2 separate regions of the Homo sapiens genome follow, and region 1 is linked to region 2. Evidence: promoter capture Hi-C in 16 types of primary human blood cells and fetal thymus (Javierre and others, 2016). All regions are on one chromosome and are shown on one strand. Each heading gives the region's core, a stretch centred on a gene start or on the middle of the fragment in contact. The rest is flanking DNA. Distances are from core to core; before and after follow the strand shown.

What was found. The method cuts DNA at HindIII sites, captures the fragments that hold promoters and counts their contacts. A CHiCAGO score of 5 or more calls a contact.
Region 1: a contact is called between a fragment that was not itself captured here and the fragment with the promoter of VSIG4 in region 2, in 5 of 17 cell types (endothelial precursors, total CD4 T cells, M2 macrophages and 2 more). The highest score is 7.6, in endothelial precursors.

What each region holds. Positions count from the first base shown.
Region 1 is chrX:66,715,684-66,721,248 of GRCh38, reverse strand. No RefSeq gene overlaps it. Among named protein-coding and RNA genes, the nearest start is that of EDA2R, 79 kb to the right of the region's middle. RefSeq lists an enhancer at 2,311-3,510. The HindIII fragment of the contact is 1,806 bases long and covers 3,394-5,199 here.
Region 2 is chrX:66,035,624-66,041,332 of GRCh38, reverse strand. VSIG4 (V-set and immunoglobulin domain containing 4) reads left to right here and starts at 1,253. Exons shown (of 8, transcript NM_007268.3): 1 at 1,253-1,389. The coding sequence starts at 1,335. The HindIII fragment of the contact is 1,000 bases long and covers 757-1,756 here.

The DNA of each region.
Region 1 (5,565 bases), core at 3,047-5,546, 680 kb before region 2:
CTTGGTCCAGAGCTGAGTTCAAGTCCTGAATATCCTTGTTAATTTTCTGTCTCATTTATCTGTCTAATATTGACAGTGCAGTGTTAAAGTCTCTCATGATTTTTGTGTGGGAGTCTAAGGCTCTTTGTAGGTTTCCAAGAACTTGCTTTATGAATCTGGGTGCTCCTGTATTGGGTGCATATATATTTAGGATAGTTAGCTCTTCTTGTGACATTGGTCCCATTACCATTATGTAATGTCCTGCTTTGTCGTTTTTGATCTTGGTTGGTTTAAAGTCTGTTTTATCAGAGACTAGGATTGCAACCCTTGCTTTGTTTTGCTTTCCATTTGCTTGGTAAATATTCCTCCATCTCTTCATTTTGAGCCTATATGTGTCTTTGCACATGAGATGGGTCTCCTGAATACAGCACACTGATGGGTCTTGAATATTTATTCAAGTTGTCCATTTGTGTATTTTAATTGGGGCATTTAACCCATTTACATTTAAGGTTAATATTGTTATTTGTGAATTTGATTCTGTCATTAAGACGGTTAGTTGATGCAGTTTCTTCACAGTGTCAATAGTCTTTACAATTTGATATGTATTTGCAGTGGCTGGTACCTATTTTTCCTTTCCATATTTAGTGCTTCCTTCAGGAGCTCTTATAAGGCAGGCCTGGTGGTGACAAAATCTCTTAGAATTTGCTTGTCTGTAAAGGATTTTATTTCTCTTTCACTTACAAAGCTTAGTTTGGAAGGATATGAAATTCTGGGTTGAAAATTCTTTTCTTTAAGAATGTTGAATATTGGCCCCCACTCTCTTCTGGGTTGTAGGGTTTCTGCAGAGAGATCAGTTGTTAGTCTGATGGGCTTCCCTTTGTGGGTAACCCGACCTTTCTCTCTGGCTGCCCTTACCATTTTTTCCTTCATTTTGACCTTGGCGAATCTAATGATTATGTGTCTTGTGGTTGCTCTTCTCTAGGAGTATCTTTGTGGTGTTCTCTGTATTTCCTGAATTTAAATTTTGGCCTGTCTTCCTAAGTTGGGGATGTTCTCCTGGGCAATATACTGAAGAGTGTTTTCCAACTTCATTCCATTATCCCTGTCACTTTCCAGTGTACCAATCAAACGTAGGTTTGGTCTTTTCCCATAGTCCCATATTTCTTGTAGGCTTTGTTCATTTTTTTGTTGTTGTTTTTGTTTTTTCTTTTTTATCTCGTCGTCACGCTTTATTTCATTAAGTTGATCTTCAATCTCTGATATCTTTTCTTCTGCTTAATCAGTTTGGCTAATGATACTTTTGTATGCTTCACGAAGTTCTCACGCTGTGTTTTTCAGCTCCATCAGGTCATTTATGTTTTTCTCTAAACTGGTTACTGTAGTTAGCAATTCTTCTAACCTTTTTTCAAGGTTCTTAGCTTCCTTGCATTGGGTTAGAACATGATTCTTTAGCTCGGAGGAGTTTGTTATTACCCACCTCTGAAGCCTACTTCTGTCAATTCATCAAACTTATTCTCTGTCCAGTTTTGTTCCCTTGCTATTGAGTAGTTGCTATCCTTTGGAGGAGAAGAGGTGTTCTGATTTTTGAAATTTTCAGCCTTTTTGTGCTGGTTTTTCCTTATCTTCGTGGATTTATCTACCTTTGGTCTTTGATGCTGATGACCTTCGGATGGGGTTTCTGTGTGGACATCCTTTTCATTGATGTTGATGCTATCTTTTCCATTTGTTCGTTTTCGTTCTAAACAGTCAGGCCCCTCTGCTGCAGGTCTGCTGGAGTTTGCTGGACGTCCACTCCAGAACCTGTTTGCCTGGGTATCACCAGTGGAGGCTGCAGAACAGCAAAGATTGCTGCCTATCCCTTCCTCTGGAGGCTTTGTCCCAGAAGGGCACCCACCAAATGCCGTCTGGAGCTCTCCTGTATGAAGTGTCTGTCGACTCCTGCTGGGAGGTGTCTCCCAGTCAGGTGTCACAGGGGTCAGGGACCCACTTGAGGAGGCAGTCTGTCCCTTAGCAGAGCTTGAGCACTGTGCTTTGAGATCCACTGCTCTCTCCAGAGCTGGCAGGCAGAAACGTTTAAGTTTGCTGAAGGTGCACTCACAGCCACCCCTTTTCACAGGTGCTCTGTCCCAGGGAGATGGGAGTTTCATCTATAAGCCCCTGACAGGGGCTGCTGCCTACCTTTCAGAGATGCCCTGCCCAGAGAAGAGGAATATAGAGTGGCAGTCTGGCTACAGAGGCTTTGCTGAGCTGTGGTGGGCTCCGCCCAGTTTGAATTTCCTGGAAGCTTTTTTACACTGTGAGGGGGAAATCACCTACTCAACCCTCAGTAATGGTGGACGCCCCCTCCCCCCACCAAGCTCAAGCATCTCAGGTCAACTTTAGACTTCAGACTGCTGTGCTGGCAGCAAGAATTTCAAGCCAGTGTATCTTAGCTGTCTGGGCTTCGTGGGGGTGGGTTCCACTGAGCTAGACCACTTGGCTCCCTGGCTTCAGACCCTTTACTAGGGGAGTGAACAGTTCTGTCTTGCTGTTGTTCCAGGCGCCACTGGGGTATGAAAAAAACTCCTGCCACTAGCTCAGGGTCTGCCCAAATGGCTGCTCAGTTTTGTGGTTGAAACCCAGGTCCCTGGTGGTGTAGGCACCTGAGGGAATCTTGTGGTCTGTGGATTGTGAAGAGCATGGGAAACGCATAGTATTTGGGCCAGAATGCACCGTTCCTCATGGCACAGGCCTTCACGAATTCCCTTGGCTAGGGGAGGGAGTTCCCCGACCTCTTGCACTTCCCAGGTGAGGCATCACCTTACCCTGTTTCTACTCACCCTCTGTGGGCTGCACCCACCTTCTAACCAGTTCCAATGTTATGAGCTGGGTACTTCAGGTGGAAATGCGGAAATCACTCGCCTTCTGCGCTGATCTTTCTGGGAACTGCAGATTGGAGCTCTTCCTATTCGGCCATCTTGCCAGCCACCCCTCTTCTCCTTCTTATATTACACTTATTTCCTGACTAATTTAATCCCCTTATTTAGCTTAAACCAAGACCTGAAGCTGACGGTTACTAAATTTATGTCCACAGCCCAGGCTGCTTCTCCAACACCAGACCTATATATCAAAATACCTATCATATGTTTCACAGGCACATCAAAACTTCTTCTGAAACTGAATTCATCATTTCCCCCTTTCCTCAGATATAAACTTAGTCACCAAATTAGTCACCAAAGCCAAAAACGTGACTGTAATTCTTGATTCCTGCTTATCCCTTAACTCTTACATCCCATCAATCCTCAATTTATCTATTGATTTGACAAATTCTACCTGATATGCTATTTTGTTCCCAGCATTATGCTAGGTGCAGTCCCTACCACAGTAACTACTTTCATGAAGCTTTCATCCTAGTAGCAAGCCCAGTATTAAGCTTTGATTTATACACTAAATTAATTACATTTTTAGTTGTAAATGATTTTTTAACTACTAGATTTATGTTTTTAGAGGAGCTGTAGGTTTGTCAAAACACTGAGCAAAAAGAACAGAGTTTCCATATACTCATTGTCTTGCCCCACACTCTCAGGTTTCCCTATTATTAACATCTTGCCTGATTGAGGTATATTTGTTACAATTGATGAATCAACATTGATACATCATTTAAACTTAAGCCCATAGTTAACATTATGGCTCATTCTTTGTATTGTGCAGTTCTACCAGGCTTGCCAAGTACATAAAGCCATGTATCTACTATTACAATAATAGTATAGCACAGTTTCACTGCTCTAAAAATCCCGTGTTTCACCTATTTAATCCTCCTACTATCCATGACGACCACTGATTTTCAGTCAGTATAGTTTTGTCTTATCGAGAATGTCACATAGTTGGAATCATATAGCATGTAGCATTTTCAGACCAGGTTCTTTCACTTACCGATATGCATTTAAGATTTCTCCTTGCCTTCTTGAGGCTTAATAGTTCATTTCTTTTCATTGTTGAATAATATTATCTTGTATGGATTTATCAGTTTGTTTACCCATTCACTTATTGAAAGGATATCTTGGTTGCTTCCAACTTTTGTCGATTATGAATAAATTTATAACAAATATTCATATGCAGATTTTGTGTAGACATAAATCTTTAATTCATTTCAGTAAATATCTAGTAGTATGATTGCTGGATCATACAATAAGACTATGTTTAGTTTTGTAAGAAACTGCCAAACTGTCTTCCACAGTGGCTGTGTCATTTTGCATTCCCACCAGGAATGAATGAAGGCTTCTGTTGCTCTACATTCTCAATAGCATTTGGCATTGTCAGTATTGTGCCATTCTAATAGATGTGCAGTAGAATTTCATTGTTGCTTTAATTTGTAATTCTCTAATGTTAATTAGATATTAACAATTTTAAATTCTAGAAATTAGAAGACTATTGCACTATAAGAACATGTAGCATAGAACATTACTTAGTCTGGAATCATGGAAGATTTCTCTGAAAAGGTGATGTTTGAGTTGAATGTTGTGGAGTAAATAGGAATTAATTAAATAATTAGAAGAGAGTCCTGGCGGAGGAGAGAGCATGTACAGAAGGACCTGAGGTAGCGAGAAAGGTAACATATTTGAGGTTCAAAAAAGGCCTGTGTGTGGTCAACACTTATGGAGCATAGGACAAGGTGACATGAGGAAAGGCAGGGACTATGTAGGCCACAGGAATAATTTGAACTCCTTTCTAAGACTAGTGTGAAGCTACTGAAGGTTTTTCATGAGGGGCGTGACTTGATCAAATTTGAGCTTTGGAAAGATCACTCAATTTGCTGCATATCAGAGAATTGGGGAAACCTCAAGTAAGGAGGCTTTTGAGATAAATCAAGAAAGGAAAGTTGTAGCTTTAATTTGGTTCATAGCAATGAAGATCAGAGAAATGGATATATACAGGGATTATTTAGGAAGTACAAGCAATAGGACATAGAGATTGATTATAAATGAAAGGTAGGAAGTGGTGAGGTAGAGCATAGAGGACATGAGAGGTTTCTGATTTCTAGTTTGAGCAACTAAATGAATGGTGGTGACCATCTTTAAGTTTGAAATACTATAAGGAAGAGCAAGTTTGGGGTACAGTGAGATGATTAGTGGAGTATGAAATACTATAGTTCAATTGGAGGAATGTATTTTTTGCTTTCTTAGAGGTACATAGAATAATGGTGCTTTTTGAAATAGATGGTATATTAATTTTAGTTAAGCTTGCTTGTTGCAACCAGGAACATAGATGAGATTACCAAGGGAGATAATATAGTTTCAGAAGAGAAGGGAGCCAAGGCCTGAGCCTTGAGGATTTCTAACATTAAAACATGCAGTAGAAGTAGGAGGATATGAACTGGCAATGGAGACTGAGAAAGAGCAGACAGAAATATGGGAGGAAATTTAGGCATACCCAGTGTCCCAAAAGCCAAGTAAAGAGAGTACTCTAGAAAGAGCTGAAGTACGTCCCATCAATACCTAATTTATTGAGAGTTTTTAGCATGAAGGGTTGTTGAATTTTGTCAAAGGATTTTTCTGCATATATTGAGATAATCATGTGGTTTTTTCAAAATAATAAGAGCTATCTATG
Region 2 (5,709 bases), core at 4-2,503:
ATGAGTGCAGTACTCAAAAAACAAGGAACAACCAGCCAAGGGGGATTGGGCCCTAGAGGCAGAGGTGATTGATAGAATTCCATGTAATAATGTGTCCTGAAATGCTGGAATGTCTCCTTAGCCCGTGCACAGCTCCAAATCATCTGCATGCAGCCACCCCTTGGCAAGTATGTTTCTTTATATTCCCACTCCCCATCTCTGCACAAACTCCTCCCTCCCCTGACCAAGTCCTTTCCTATCCCTCCAATCAAAGAGTAAACTAAGCTTAGCTGTTACTTACAGTGCAGTATGAATTTTTGGGATGTATTTGTGCTTTTGAAAGTGCTTATTGTTTCAAAGCTTAGTAGACAAAGCGCAGTGCCAAACCTAGTTAGACTGCTGATGAAATTACAGTCACTCTGGGGCCTGTGAAGAGGAGCAATTTCTGGAGCAGTTGAGCTTTGCTAGGAGGCATAATATTACTCTCTTGTAGGTCAAGGGCCTGTACCAATTGGAAGTCAATGAAAAATTCAACCTAATACAGCATACCACTAATGGGCTGCTGCACTGGAGGCTAGGCTTAAATTTCCCTTAAAAGAAGTAAAAAATAAATTCCTTATGAAAAAGCATGGAGAACATTAATGAAAATGAATTCTCCCTTACCATCAGAGAGGTGGAGCCATTGTAGAAAGTGATTCAAAGAGCTTCCCCAATATGAGATATGAGGCATATTCACCCATAACAGCCTTATCCATTGGCTTGTCAATTATTCAAGCTTTGATGTGTAGAAAGCCCTTTAATACACTAAACTCTTGTACTCTTAAGCCCAAAAGCACCCCGGGCCCAACACCCTGTCCAGTTGCATAGGCTGCACAGGCAAGGGTTAACAGTACAACTAATGAAAATTGGGTAGGTCAGCAAAGTTGATCTCTTCTCCCTGGGCTCACCACAAAGGAAAACACCGCCATACTGGAGTGGGAAGACTCATCCCAAAGGTCGCCCCCACAACCTCTGAATCTTGTGGAGGAGACTCAAAATAAATACAGCCTAGGAGATCAAAGACCAGAAAGCCCCATTGGCTCCAAGGAAAGTCAAGTCAATACCCTAGCAGGGGGAAGAATTGCTTCACTCATCCTGGAACCTCCAACCCCAAGGAGGTGGGGGAAGGGGGGCACCCCACATGACCTGTACTGAAATAGGGAAGGAAGGGGAATGTGTGATGGGACTAGGAGTTTGAGTGAGAGATATAGGGAAGGAAGGGAAGTAAGCAGTCACAGACGCTGGCGGCCACCAGAAGTTTGAGCCTCTTTGGTAGCAGGAGGCTGGAAGAAAGGACAGAAGTAGCTCTGGCTGTGATGGGGATCTTACTGGGCCTGCTACTCCTGGGGCACCTAACAGTGGACACTTATGGTAAGGCAGAAAGGGGGGCCTGGCTGCCATTGCTGGCTTAGGCAAAAGGCTAGAGGGTTGGTGTTTAATGTCTACTATGGAAAGCCTATTCCTACTGGGCAGGTGAGTCTTCTCAGCCAAACTCTGCAGGCTCTCTCAGCCTTGAGCAAAACGGATGGATGTAGTTGAAGGCTGCTGAAGAAGCCAGAAGGCAAGTTTGGGCAGAAATTGAAAAAGGATTTTTCTCTTGGAAAACATCTGCATTATTTTCTAGGGCTTGTATCTCAGGGGCATCAAGAAGGTTCCCAATGACATCCGAATCTTTCCTCCATCTGCTGTCTCTCATCTAAAATTCTACAATTGGACTTAACCACTCTGCTTCCAAGCTTTGGTCTCTGTTAAAATATACAGCCCCCGAAGAAGGAGTGTTTTCTAAGAGTTGGATAGGACTATAGAAGTAACCTATACCACCCTTCATTGTCATGAATAAGTGCTCAGAAACATCCAGTAGTGATTGAGATTTCACTGTTCACTACCTCCCCAGACCATCTAGTCCATCCAGGAGCAGCTCCAACTGTTAGAAAGTTCTTATTTGTGTTGAACTAAATCCAGTTCCCTCTGACTTCCATCCAAAAACCCCAGCTTTGCTTCTTGGGGCTACACAGAACATAGATGCTTCCTTGCCCTGTGATAGCCCTTCAAAGCCCTGAGGACAAGTACTATGTCTCCTTGACTCTTCTCTCCTCCAAGCTGAACAGCCCCAGCTTTTTCAACTGGTCTTCATAGGACTTGGTTTCTTACCCATTCCTGGGATAACTCACTTCCCTATAGACATGGCTCAATTTGTCTGGGCTATTTATGGGCTGGATACAAATCCCAAAGGAGGATGGACTATTCCATAGTGGCATTATTTCCTTGGAGCTTGGGAAGCTCTATCCTCATCTACACTCCTGAGAAGTGAGATGGATTTTCAGGAAACTCAACCTGGGTAACAGCTAAGTGAGATCCAATATAGGGTAAAGGGGGATTTTGCTGCTTCCCTATCATCCCTAGAGAAAAAGGCTGGATAGGTGTTAGCTTGGTGTCACTTGTTAGGTCAGAAAGAATCCAGCTTTCCGTAGCTGACTCTGATTAGGTTACCCTATCCTGGGGCTCTGTGACCCATCACACTCTGGAACCTCAGAGTTAGAAAAGACTCTGAATTAAGTCAACCAAGAGAAAAAATAATTTGCCCCCAAGCCAAAGAGCATTAGTGGCAGAGTTAATGCTCCTGAAAAAACATTTTTCTTTCTATAACTACCACATTTCCATTCTCTAGCAGGTTTTATAATGTATCTCTCTACCTTCTCCAAGTCTGTTGGTTTGAGCTAGGGCTTAAGCCTGGGGCTTGAGGGAGCATTTTAGAAATGTTAAATTTAAATCCTTTGTTTGTGTGTGTGTATGTGTGTGTGCATTCATGTGTGTGTGTGTGTGTGTGTGTGTGAGAGAGAGAGAGAGCACTCATGTGTCTTGTTCCTTCCCCAGCCTATGAGCTTTTCCAGACCTGGAAGCAGGCCTTCCATTTGTACACAGGATCTTATACTATAGACCTCAGGCTCAGGTTATGCTGAGCTGCAAATAATACCTTCCCTCTCCCTGGACCTCATTGTTCCTAGCCCATCTGTACAGTGAGGAGGTTGACTTGACTGGTCTTAAAGGGGTTTCTCAGCTGGACAACTCTGTGGGACTGCAGCTTCACTGCTAAAAACCCTGTAGCGGCCAGAGTAAGCTGCTAGCCTCTTCCTGTGGGGCTAAGAGATATGTCAAGATAATCAAAATTTAAAAAATTTCTAATATTCACATTTTATATACATTTTAAACATTTCAGAAACATTTTATAAACATCTATTATATAAGTTAATCCTCCATCCAGGAGGCATTCCAGGAAAGGGAGAGAAGCCAGTCATGTGGGGGAATGGGATAGAGATATGGAAAATGTCAACCTCTTTGTGATGATGGGAGGAAGGGGATTCAGAAAGAGACCTAGAATGGGTCTTATAAAGGAGCACACACCTAGTAAATTCAACCTTTCTTTTCTTCAGTGCCATTACACAGGCATCAGACATTTGCTTTTATAAGGCTGGGTCTCAGGACCACATTAAGCTCAATACTGTATATATACTTATCAGCAATAAGTATATATACTTATCAGCAATAAGTATATATACGTATCAGTAATAAGTTTATATACTTAGTAATAAGTATATATACTTATCAGTAATAAGTATAATATAATATAATGTTATATATTATATATAAGTAATTATCAGTAATAATTATATAATTATTATATATTATATATAAGTAATTATCAGTAAAGTGGAAGTAATAATAAAGGAAGTAATATAATATAATAAGTATATAAATATATAATATAATATAATATATTATGAATATATTATATTATATTATTATTATATAATATATATTATATATTGTATTATATAATTATTATATATATTATATTATTATATAATTATATTATATATTATATTATTATATGATATATATTATATATTAATATTATTACATAATATATATTATATATTATATTATATTATTATATAATATATATTATATATTATATTATATTATTATATAATATATATTATATATTATATTATTATATAATATATATTATATATTATATTATATTATTATATAATATATATTATATATTATATTATATTATTATATAATATATATTATATATTATATTATATTATTATATATTATATATTATATATTATATTATATTATTATATAATATATATTATATATTATATTATATTATTATATAATATTTTATATTATATTATATTATTATATAATATATATTATATGATATATTATATTATTATATAATATATATTATATGATATATTATATTACATTATATATTATATTATATGATATATTATATGATATATTATATTATATGATATATTATATTATATATTATATAATATAATATAATATATCATATAATATATCATATAATATAATATATCATATAATATATTATATAATAAAATATATAATATAATATATAATATAATATATTATTATATATATAATATATTATATAACATATTATATATATAATAATATATAATATTATATAATATATTATATTATATATAATATAATATAATATATATTATATTATATTATATATTATTAATATATTATAATTATATAATATATATATTATATAATTATAATATATTAATAATATATCGTATTATATATATTATATTATATTATATATTATATTATTAAAATATTATCTATATTATAAATATATTATATTATATTTTTATTATATTATAATATTACTTCCTTTATTATTACTTCCACTTTACTGATAGTGACTCAAAGTTCAGATAGGTTTAGTAATTTACCCAAGGTCACACAGAGAGATATGTGGTAAGGCAGACCTTGCGCTTAGATCAGTGTTATTCCTACTACATCATACAGTCCTTCATTACCCTCCTGCTCTCATTAGGGGCTCCTACTTGATTCTAGGGGAACTACAAGGAAAGGTAGAAGGTACAAGTCAGTGGTATTGTGGTTTACTTCACTTTGGAGATCAGAAAACATGAGGAATAGTACAATGTCATTTTTCTTGTGATGTCCTGTACCTATAATCCAGTCTCTTTATGCAACTAATGAAGCAGGAGGAGGAAGAGGAGATAAGAATAAGAAAAAGAAGAAGGAAGAAAAAAGGAACGGAAGCATAATGGAACAATGAGTGGAAGAAATAAAGGAGGAAGAAGGGAGAGGAAAAAAAAAGTAAAAGGGGAAAAAACATGCCATTTTGGGAAGTCTAGTTACCAACTCTGTCCTATTCATTCTGGGATGGAGGAGTTAAGCCTGACCTACTTCCAGAAGTGATTTTCAAAACTGAGAAATTGAGACTATCTAGCAATTTTCTTGATAGGCCAGACTGAGCTTTGTGAGAATTTCCAGCAAATTCCCAGGGAGGAAAAACACAACCCAGGCCTTTCAGCTCCCCTAAGGTCAGAAGGAAGACCTGCATATGCATAGACAAAGGCATTTTCAACTCACAGCAGAATGCTGCTTTGTTGCCCAAGAGGGGAATGTGAGAATGCTTTTCAGAGAAGAGGAGGGACATTGGGAAAGTCCAGAGGAAGATTAATGGGAAATAGCCTATTAAACCAAGAGGCTCAGATAGTTTTCATGGGGTTTAAGCATGGTATGTTTGTGCTTGCATGTGGCCAAAAATATGTATGGGCATGTGAGTCCATGATAATGAAAAGCTGTATCTGCAATCACATG